Linked DNA regions of Homo sapiens: all the other regions are linked to region 1. The links are contacts of gene promoters, found by promoter capture Hi-C in blood cells and fetal thymus (Javierre and others, 2016). All regions are on one chromosome and are shown on one strand. The core of a region is centred on a gene start or on the middle of the fragment in contact, and the rest is flanking DNA. Distances in the headings are between cores, read along the strand shown. Region 1 holds the start of CMTM5 (CKLF like MARVEL transmembrane domain containing 5). Region 2 has its middle 4.3 kb from the start of CEBPE. Region 3 overlaps ACIN1 (apoptotic chromatin condensation inducer 1).

Evidence for each region. Contacts are between HindIII fragments. The CHiCAGO score rates a contact against its expected background, and 5 or more counts as called.
Region 2: a fragment that was not itself captured here is called in contact with the fragment with the promoter of CMTM5 in region 1 in 4 of 17 cell types (erythroblasts, activated CD4 T cells, total CD8 T cells and 1 more); the score reaches 6.7 in erythroblasts.
Region 3: a contact is called between a fragment that was not itself captured here and the fragment with the promoter of CMTM5 in region 1, in 1 of 17 cell types (total B cells). The highest score is 5.5, in total B cells.

The regions. Positions count from the first base shown.
Region 1 is chr14:23,375,627-23,378,453 of GRCh38, reverse strand. CMTM5 (CKLF like MARVEL transmembrane domain containing 5) reads right to left here and starts at 1,408. Exons shown (of 6, transcript NM_001288746.2): 1 at 1,077-1,408; 2 at 1-105. The coding sequence starts at 1,202. IL25 (interleukin 25) reads right to left here. Exons shown (of 3, transcript NM_172314.2): 3 at 2,051-2,827. The coding sequence ends at 2,574. The HindIII fragment of the contact is 2,824 bases long and covers 820-2,827 here.
Region 2 is chr14:23,113,633-23,116,357 of GRCh38, reverse strand. No RefSeq gene overlaps it. Among named protein-coding and RNA genes, the nearest start is that of CEBPE, 4.3 kb to the left of the region's middle. RefSeq lists enhancers at 393-1,592, 1,758-2,476. The HindIII fragment of the contact is 3,584 bases long and covers 1-2,725 here.
Region 3 is chr14:23,078,270-23,081,028 of GRCh38, reverse strand. It overlaps ACIN1 (apoptotic chromatin condensation inducer 1), which reads left to right. Exons shown (of 19, transcript NM_001386863.1): 6 at 220-1,482; 7 at 1,991-2,209. It overlaps LOC124903288 (a long non-coding RNA gene), which reads right to left. Exons shown (of 2, transcript XR_007064077.1): 1 at 2,332-2,759; 2 at 1-1,569. Among named protein-coding and RNA genes, the nearest start is that of ACIN1, 15 kb to the left of the region's middle. RefSeq lists an enhancer at 1,438-2,637. The HindIII fragment of the contact is 3,399 bases long and covers 1-2,759 here.

The DNA.
Region 1 (2,827 bases), core at 159-2,658:
ATAGAGGAAGAGGAAGGCAAGTGTGATGAAGAACTCCAGTAGCGCCGCGGCCATGTAGGCAGAGATGGAGGCCGTGAAGCAGATGAAGATGATGAGGGTCAGGGCCTGCAGGACCGAGCATGTGGAACATGCCAAGAAGGGGACACAGGCAGGGGCCAGGGCTTTGCCTTCCCCTCCTTGGAAGCTCCCCTAGGCTGGCACCTACTACCTGTCCTTGGAGGGGAGGAAGGACTCTGGCACATCTCCCTATCCCCTGGTGTCAGGAGCCACCGTTGCAGGGCATTTGCCGGTCAAGGGCAGTCTCCGGCCTCCCACTCTGCTCACCCAGCAACCCCAGCAGTCTGGCCAAGCCATATGGCTCCCAGGAGCACTATCCCACAGTAATTCATAGGTACAGTGTGAATGCCAGCCCCTGGAGTTGTGCCCACAGAGACCCGACTCCACAGGGACCAAGAGGAGCCCCCTGCCTCATAATGCTTTCCCCACCCCCAGATGCCTGAAAGCCCCCTGACAAGGACCAGAGCCTTTGATTCCATGCCAAGAGAGAAGGCAGATGCTGCCCAGTGGTTTCTGGGAGCCCCTTTAGCTCTGATGACCTAGGGTGGCATACGTGCAGAGGCCTTAACTCTACACTGTGGTCTTGCTAAGTAACCAGGGGAAGATCCTTTCCTGAGAAGAGATGTTTCTGGGCAGCAGACCACAGATAAAGTGCAGTTGCAGGAAGTCTGCCCTTTTTGATAGTTAGACTTCTTGGACGTGCTGAGAAGTGGCCATGTTAGAGGCTGTCATTGCCCCTGTCCCATCCCTATGTCTCAAGCTTCCTCAATGTCCCAAAAAGTCACCCTGTCTAACTGCAGTCCTTCCTGCTGCAACTGAAACCTGCTGTAAATGTCTCCGGGTGGAGAGGCAGCAAGAAGGCAGAGTAGGAGACGAAGAAGGGGCAGCTGCGGGCAGGAGAGGTGTCCAGAGGGCTTGGGGAAGGAGGCTACTGAAGGGTGAGCTGGGGGCTGGCATAAGGCTGGCCAGGAGCCGGGGGTCAGGGAGATGGAGGCACCAGGTTGGGAGGCAGCTGTTACCAGCTCGGTTTCCAGCAGGATGCCCTTGTGGGAGGTGAGGAAGGCCTTGTCCACCGCGAAGCCCTGGAGCTCTGCAACTACCCCCTCCTCAGGGTGCCGGTCCCGGCGATCTCGAGCACTGAGCATCTTCGTAGGGCCCACCAACACAGCCCCCTACTGCCAAAAGCCCAGCAAGAGAAACAGAAATCTGGCAGGATGGGGAAACAGACAGGAGCAAGAAGGCACTTCGAGAAACCTGAAAGTGAAGCAGGAGGCTTGCCCACAGGGCCCCGGGAGAGAAGGCAGGCGCTGGGGGCCTTGCCCAGATGGGCCCTCACCCAGCTGCCCAGAGTGCCTCTGCTGCTGCCTGCACCAGCCCCCTAGAGACCCATGGGGAGGGGCAGAGAGGAAGGAGGCTCTAATCCCTCCCCTTGCTTAGAGCCCAACCCAGCCTGGAATAGAGAAGGAAGGGGAGAGGAGGAGGTCCGAAAAGAAACTGGGAGGAGCTGGGATGTGAGTAGAGGAACAGGGGCAGGACTGGGAGCCCCCAGGGACCTAAGCCTGAAGACATTTGTGTCCCCCTTCTCTAACCTTAACCCTCTTGTTTGGCCGGTCCTTTCTCCCATTTCCTTTTAGGGAGGGTGTGAGCTGGAGCCCAGCCCAGGCAGCACCCCCAGGACCAAGCTGCAGCAGCCAGGACTGGAGGACAAAGGCGGATTGTTGGGGGACAAGGGGGCGCTCTGTGCCTGCTGCAATGCCTCAATGGGCCTCTGTCTCTCCAGCATGCCGGGAGCGCGGCCTAGCCCCCACCCTGGTGTTTGGGATGGGCCAGGGAGACAGAGATGGGAGAGGACGGGAGGGTGCAGCGGAAACTCTGGAGGGCGGAGAGAGCTGGCAGGGTGGACAGAGGTGAGGGCCAATGGTGGAAAGGAGAAGGGACAGGCTGGGAGACCGCGAGATGTTCAGGCACCACGGATGCCAAATACAGATTAGGCCATTTTTAAATAAAGATATTTATTTGGATAAATCTCTATACATTCAATAACAGCTTCCTCCTCAGAATCATCCATGTCAAAAGACTAGTAACTACACTAGAATGCACCCAAAGTAGATGCTCACTGAGTGATGAGTAAACAAACAAATAAAACCAGGGGCTCTTTCTTCTCCAGCAAGGGGGAAATATCTAGAAAGTGCCTGTGCTGGGCCAGGGTAGCAGGGGATGGGAAAAGAGGAAGAGACAGGAGTGGTGGCCTCCAGAAATGGGCAGAACTTTGAAAACCTTTCCTGAGAGAAAATGACAGGACACCAGCTTCCGGCGGCCCTAAGCAGCAGCTGCTCTTTTCAAAATGTGCAGAAGTGCAGGCTTTCCCCAAAGCCCCCCATCCTGTCCCGGGATCCTGCTGCTCCAGACAGCACTTCACAGGGGCCAAGCATCTGGGCATCCTGGCCCTTCATGGCAAGTGGTTGTACACCTGGCTCCAGGTTTCCCAAAAAGGGACCAGCCTCCAGCAGGTCCGGCTAGCCCATCACACGGGGCCGCACACACACACAAGCTAAGGAAACACGGTACAGCCTGCGCTCCAGGCAGTAGCCCTTGTGGGTGCCCTTCTCGCCATGGCATGGCCGCCGGTAGAAGACAGTCTGGTTGTGGTAGAGCAGCTCCGAGTTGCCCCGGGGGTCCATGTGGGAGCCTGTCTGTAGGCTGACGCAGTGCGGGCACAGGCAACGGGCGTGGTACAGGTCCTGGGGGAGCCGGTTCAAGTCTCTGTCCA
Region 2 (2,725 bases), core at 196-2,695, 260 kb after region 1:
CATATTTATTATGATTCCTCCATTTTGCTGGAACTGAAAGGACCTCAGAGATCTCATCTAAACTCATTTTGCAGGTAAGAAAACAGGCTGCAAAGAGGGGAAGGGACTTACCTGGAGTCACACGATTGTTTAGAGGTAGAACCAAAATTGGCTCTGTAAAATCGCAGATCTCAAGATGTGCTGGGAGAGACCTCAAGAGATCATCTGGTGGGCTCTGCCCTCAGACCAGCAAGGTAGGGTGAGCCACATTTTACAGATAAAGCAGTTGAGGGCCAGAGGGGTAAGAGGCTTCTCCTGACACTCACTGAGTCCCTTTGCTGCCTCAGTACGTGGTACCTGTCTCTCTACTCCACGCTACACTCTTCTCACAGATCCTCAGTACGAGTGTCACATGAATCACATTCAATAAAGAACAGTGCCCAACAGTGTCAGGGACCCAGGGACAGATTACGGGCTTCTTAAAGTCTCTCCTAAGCCAATGCTGTGAAAGGCTGAGTCAGACATCAAGGAATAATTTTCTGAGAAGGTGAGAGACTGGTGTCTGGATCATCCCAGATCTCTCTCCCTTCTTCAAATCTCCAGCGGTAGAGCCCTCCCACACCTCGGGCATCCGTGTGCGGCATGTCTACCTTGCCCAGGACTCAGTCCTTTTCCTGCCTTTGCCTCTGTGTCTCTCGGGCACCTCTGTGTCCTGGAGGCCCGTGCCCCAGGTCTGGTTTGGAGGGAGAGATCTGAACCTTCAGTGGAGGGACCGACTGGAGCTTCCTGAGTTCAGAAGGAGGGGAGGTACCAGTCTCTGTGGGCACCTGGGAGAATCCTCACACCTTCCTTTCAGCCCAGGGGGATAGGTTGCATAAGGGGGGTTTGTACAGAACATGGTAAATGACTCAACCTCCGGATTTCCTCCTCTCAGCTCAAGACCACTGTCCCTTGACTTACTTTCAAGGTTCTGGGTGATGGGACCTGGGTTGCTTCAGCATGAAGCCCAGGCTTTGTTCCCACAGCTCTGAATTGCTTCTCCTCTCAGGCCCCCGCTCACCCAGTCAGGTCCTCAGGGCCGGTGCCTAGTGGAGCCTTCCTGACTGGCACCCAGTCTGGGGGAGTCACATCCCCGTCTCCCCACTGTGATCCCAGCGTGACGTGCAGCAGCTGAACACATCCCAATCCTCTGCATCAGATCATATTCCAGGGGTGTGAGTCAGAGCCAGAGGGCACACTTCCTGAAAGAGGCTTTCAATCTGACCTCAATTGGTTTTGGCCAACGTAACTTATTCAACAAGTATTTGTTGAGTATCTTTTCTAGGAATGAGACAAGTTCTCAGCAGAAGGAGTAGGAAGAAAAAGTCAATAAACAAGTGTGCTGAATGTCTTCCTTTGCCCCTCCAGAACCCTCTCCACCCTTCATCACCCTACACAGTCCCCAGGTGGATGCCTCCCTACATCAACCAGCCTCTCATGGGGTGGGGGTGAGACTGGCAGGAGGAGAGTGGTGGGAGCCCCCTGCTGACCGGCGCTCTCCACAGTCCCTCCCAAAGGATTCCTGGCCCTCAGGCGCCCCCCGTGCTGGGCTAGCCCAGGGGACTTCACCACTCCAGGAACTTTCCCCAGATACTGTTGGTTCACATCTTCATAAAGCACCTTAATTAACTTCTCCTGCTTACTCCATTTGAATAGCCCATTGGGGAAACCACATAAACCAACAGGTAGGGAGGCTATTTTAGCTGGGGTGGCCGAGAAAGGTATCTCTGAGGAAGTGACATTTTAGTTGACACTTCAAAAATTTTGAGAAGGAGGCAGGTATGTCTTTGAGTGTAAGGGTGAACAGAGGGAAGGGTAAATGCAAAAGCCCTAAGGTGACCGAGAGAAAGGAAGCCAGGAGTAGATGCTGAATGAAAGAAGGAAGGAGAGGATAAGTAAGAAAAAGATGCACCTTCCCTCCAGAATGGGGCTGCAGGGGTTGCAAATGACTATTTTCATTCCCTCTGTCAAGGAGGATGGTGCCTAAGAAGCCGGGGCAGGTGGAGAGCAGGGTTCTCTCTGCCCCTGGATTCAGCTTCCCTGCCCCTTGGTCCTCCTGGCACCTTTACCACAGTAAGGTTGTCCCCACTGGGGAAGGAGATGACAGAAAGGAGCCCAGGGAAGGGCAGTTAGCCAAACCCTGCCTGGGGAAAGGCACCAGGACCGGGGACTCGATAACGTTTGAAAACCAGCAAATCAAGGTCCAAACAGCACACGCATGCAGTCCTATTGCTTCAGCGCCCACAGCTCAGGCCCACTTTTCTTTCTGGAGCAGAACTGGGGAGCAGAATGAGACTCCTGAGCTGAGAGACAGGATCTTAGGCCACAGGGAAGCTGCAGAGGAGAAGACAGACTGTGGGGAGACACTGCAGAGGGAGGAAGCTGCCCAAGGTGAGTCTGCCAAGGTCAGTCAGCGGAGGCAGTGGCTTGTGAAAGCTGCCCCCAACCCCCCTGCTCGGTGCACACCTCCCCACCCCTCTACACAGATTGCCACATGCCTGGGCCCCCAGGGCCCCCATCCCAGTGTTGCAAGATCCCGGTTGGGGTTGTGGGTGGAAAGGGGCCTCTTCACCTCCACCCCCTGCCGTGCTCCAAGCCAGTGAGGGGACTATGGGATGAAGGGGGCTGTTCAGGAGACGCTGAGGCAACAATAGGCAGGGCTGGCTGAGAGCCTGTGCGTCTCCTCTCGGACAGGCCAGTCACTTCC
Region 3 (2,759 bases), core at 201-2,700, 300 kb after region 1:
CATACAAGTAGCTTCATTGTGATATTTCTTTTGGTCACTTTGTTTTGATTCCCCTAAGGGCTACGTTAGTCATGATTGTCTCCTGTCACTCCTGTTTCTGTTGCTGAAAGTATATATCATTGAATTTCTCCTTCCTAGGGGTGTCTTCATTAGATACTTTCTCTCCTCTGTTGACTGTGAGCAAATACATTTGGAGCCATTGTGTATCTGTTCTTTCAGGCAAGAGCAGCTAAACTGTCTGAGGGCAGCCAACCTGCTGAGGAGGAAGAGGATCAAGAAACACCTTCCAGAAACCTAAGGGTCAGAGCAGATCGAAATTTGAAAACAGAGGAGGAAGAAGAGGAGGAGGAGGAGGAGGAAGAAGATGATGAAGAAGAGGAAGGTGATGATGAGGGACAAAAATCTAGGGAGGCACCAATCCTGAAAGAGTTTAAGGAAGAAGGGGAAGAGATACCTAGAGTAAAACCAGAGGAGATGATGGATGAGAGACCCAAAACAAGATCCCAGGAACAGGAGGTGTTAGAGAGAGGAGGGAGATTTACAAGATCCCAGGAAGAGGCTAGAAAAAGTCATCTGGCCAGACAGCAGCAGGAGAAGGAAATGAAAACAACATCTCCCCTTGAGGAGGAAGAAAGAGAAATAAAATCTTCACAAGGCTTAAAGGAAAAATCGAAGTCTCCTTCCCCTCCTCGACTGACTGAAGATCGAAAGAAGGCCTCACTTGTAGCGCTGCCAGAGCAAACTGCCAGCGAGGAGGAGACTCCTCCACCTTTACTAACAAAGGAAGCATCTTCTCCACCACCTCATCCACAGCTCCATAGCGAAGAAGAAATAGAGCCCATGGAAGGCCCAGCCCCCGCTGTCCTCATTCAGTTATCTCCTCCTAATACAGATGCTGACACCAGGGAGCTATTAGTATCTCAGCATACTGTCCAGTTGGTAGGAGGCCTGTCTCCTTTGTCAAGTCCTTCAGACACCAAAGCAGAATCTCCAGCAGAGAAAGTGCCAGAGGAGAGTGTCCTGCCTCTGGTTCAGAAAAGCACACTGGCTGACTACTCAGCCCAGAAGGATCTTGAACCTGAGTCAGACAGATCTGCTCAGCCCCTCCCTCTAAAAATTGAGGAATTAGCACTGGCCAAAGGAATCACTGAAGAATGTCTGAAACAGCCATCTTTGGAACAGAAGGAAGGCAGAAGAGCTTCTCATACCCTTCTCCCAAGCCACAGATTGAAACAGTCAGCTGATTCATCCTCTAGCCGGTCCTCCTCATCTTCCTCCTCCAGTTCTAGATCAAGATCTCGCTCTCCTGACAGTTCAGGTTCTCGGTCTCATTCACCGCTCAGATCCAAGCAGAGAGATGTAGCCCAGGCACGTACTCATGCCAACCCTCGTGGTAGACCCAAGATGGGCTCCAGATCAACATCAGAGTCCAGATCAAGGTCACGTTCACGTTCTCGTTCAGCATCAAGCAACAGCAGAAAAGTGAGTATGAGAGAATCCCGGGTGTATTAATGTTCTGTCATATTCCAGTGGTTTTCATTTCAGCCCCTGGAGAGCCTGTCATGATTTCTGAAAGGAATAGGAAAAGCCTCCTTTACTCTCCTTCACTGATTACTTTCTCCTCATTTCAGAATCGTATTTTCAATTAACTGATTCCCGAAATGGGGTTCTTTTTCATTTTGAGTCCCTTGATAGAATGTTGAATTTATGTACTCATCTCCTCCACTAGATGGAAACTTCTTGAGGATGTGGGCATGCCCTTTTACGTGTGTGTCCCAGGATCTAGCATCTAGTTAAAACTTAATAATTTGTTAAATAAGTGGTCAAGGAGACCACTAAATGGGAATAAACACAGACAAAATGGGAGTAAACACAGACAAAAAGGTCCAGAGTATAAAATTTGGTCCATGGAAACTGGAAAACTCAGCAATCTACTGAATATATACCATATACAATAATTTTCCTTGTTATGTGTTTCATTTTGTTTTAGTCTCTGAGCCCTGGAGTCTCCAGGGACAGCAGCACCAGCTATACTGAAACCAAAGATCCCTCTTCTGGTCAGGAGGTTGCAACTCCACCAGTGCCACAACTGCAGGTCTGTGAGCCAAAGGAGAGGACTTCCACCTCCTCATCCTCTGTCCAAGCAAGGCGTCTGAGTCAGCCTGAATCAGCTGAAAAGCATGTGACCCAGAGGTTACAGCCTGAGCGGGTAGGCTATTGTGACCCCTCCCTACACAGAGATGGAGGATTAAGCAAGATCTTCCCTCTTGTCTTTGCTATAAAACTAAAAAGTTAAGTCTGGACAAGGTTCAGTAGAAATGTGGTGGATACCTGTTAATCCTGCTTAACTCATTTCCAGCTCCCTGGTTCGTAGAAGTTCTACATGAGGCTGAGCAGCAGGGTTATCTCCAGGGCCCCCAGGGTCAATTCTTCCTCATAACTCCTCCTTTTATCTGCCAAAAGGAAGTCAGCCTTTTCTCAGTTCTCTCAAAAAAGAATTCTGTCAGAACAAGGATCACTGAGGAAAAGGAAAAAAATTAAAAATTCTGATAAAATGATTACTGGCATAAATATTCTTGAAGTACCTATTTTTAAGCCATGTTCCTTTCCTTATTCTAAAATGAAATAACAGATACAGAGGGCCGTGTGTGGAGCTGGTACTGTGTATGTCCTGCCCTGCCTTTTTCAGGCTCCAGGTAGAAGAAAAGGAACCAAGCAGATCTAAATGTTTTGCTCTGTTCGTTTTTGCTATCTCCTGA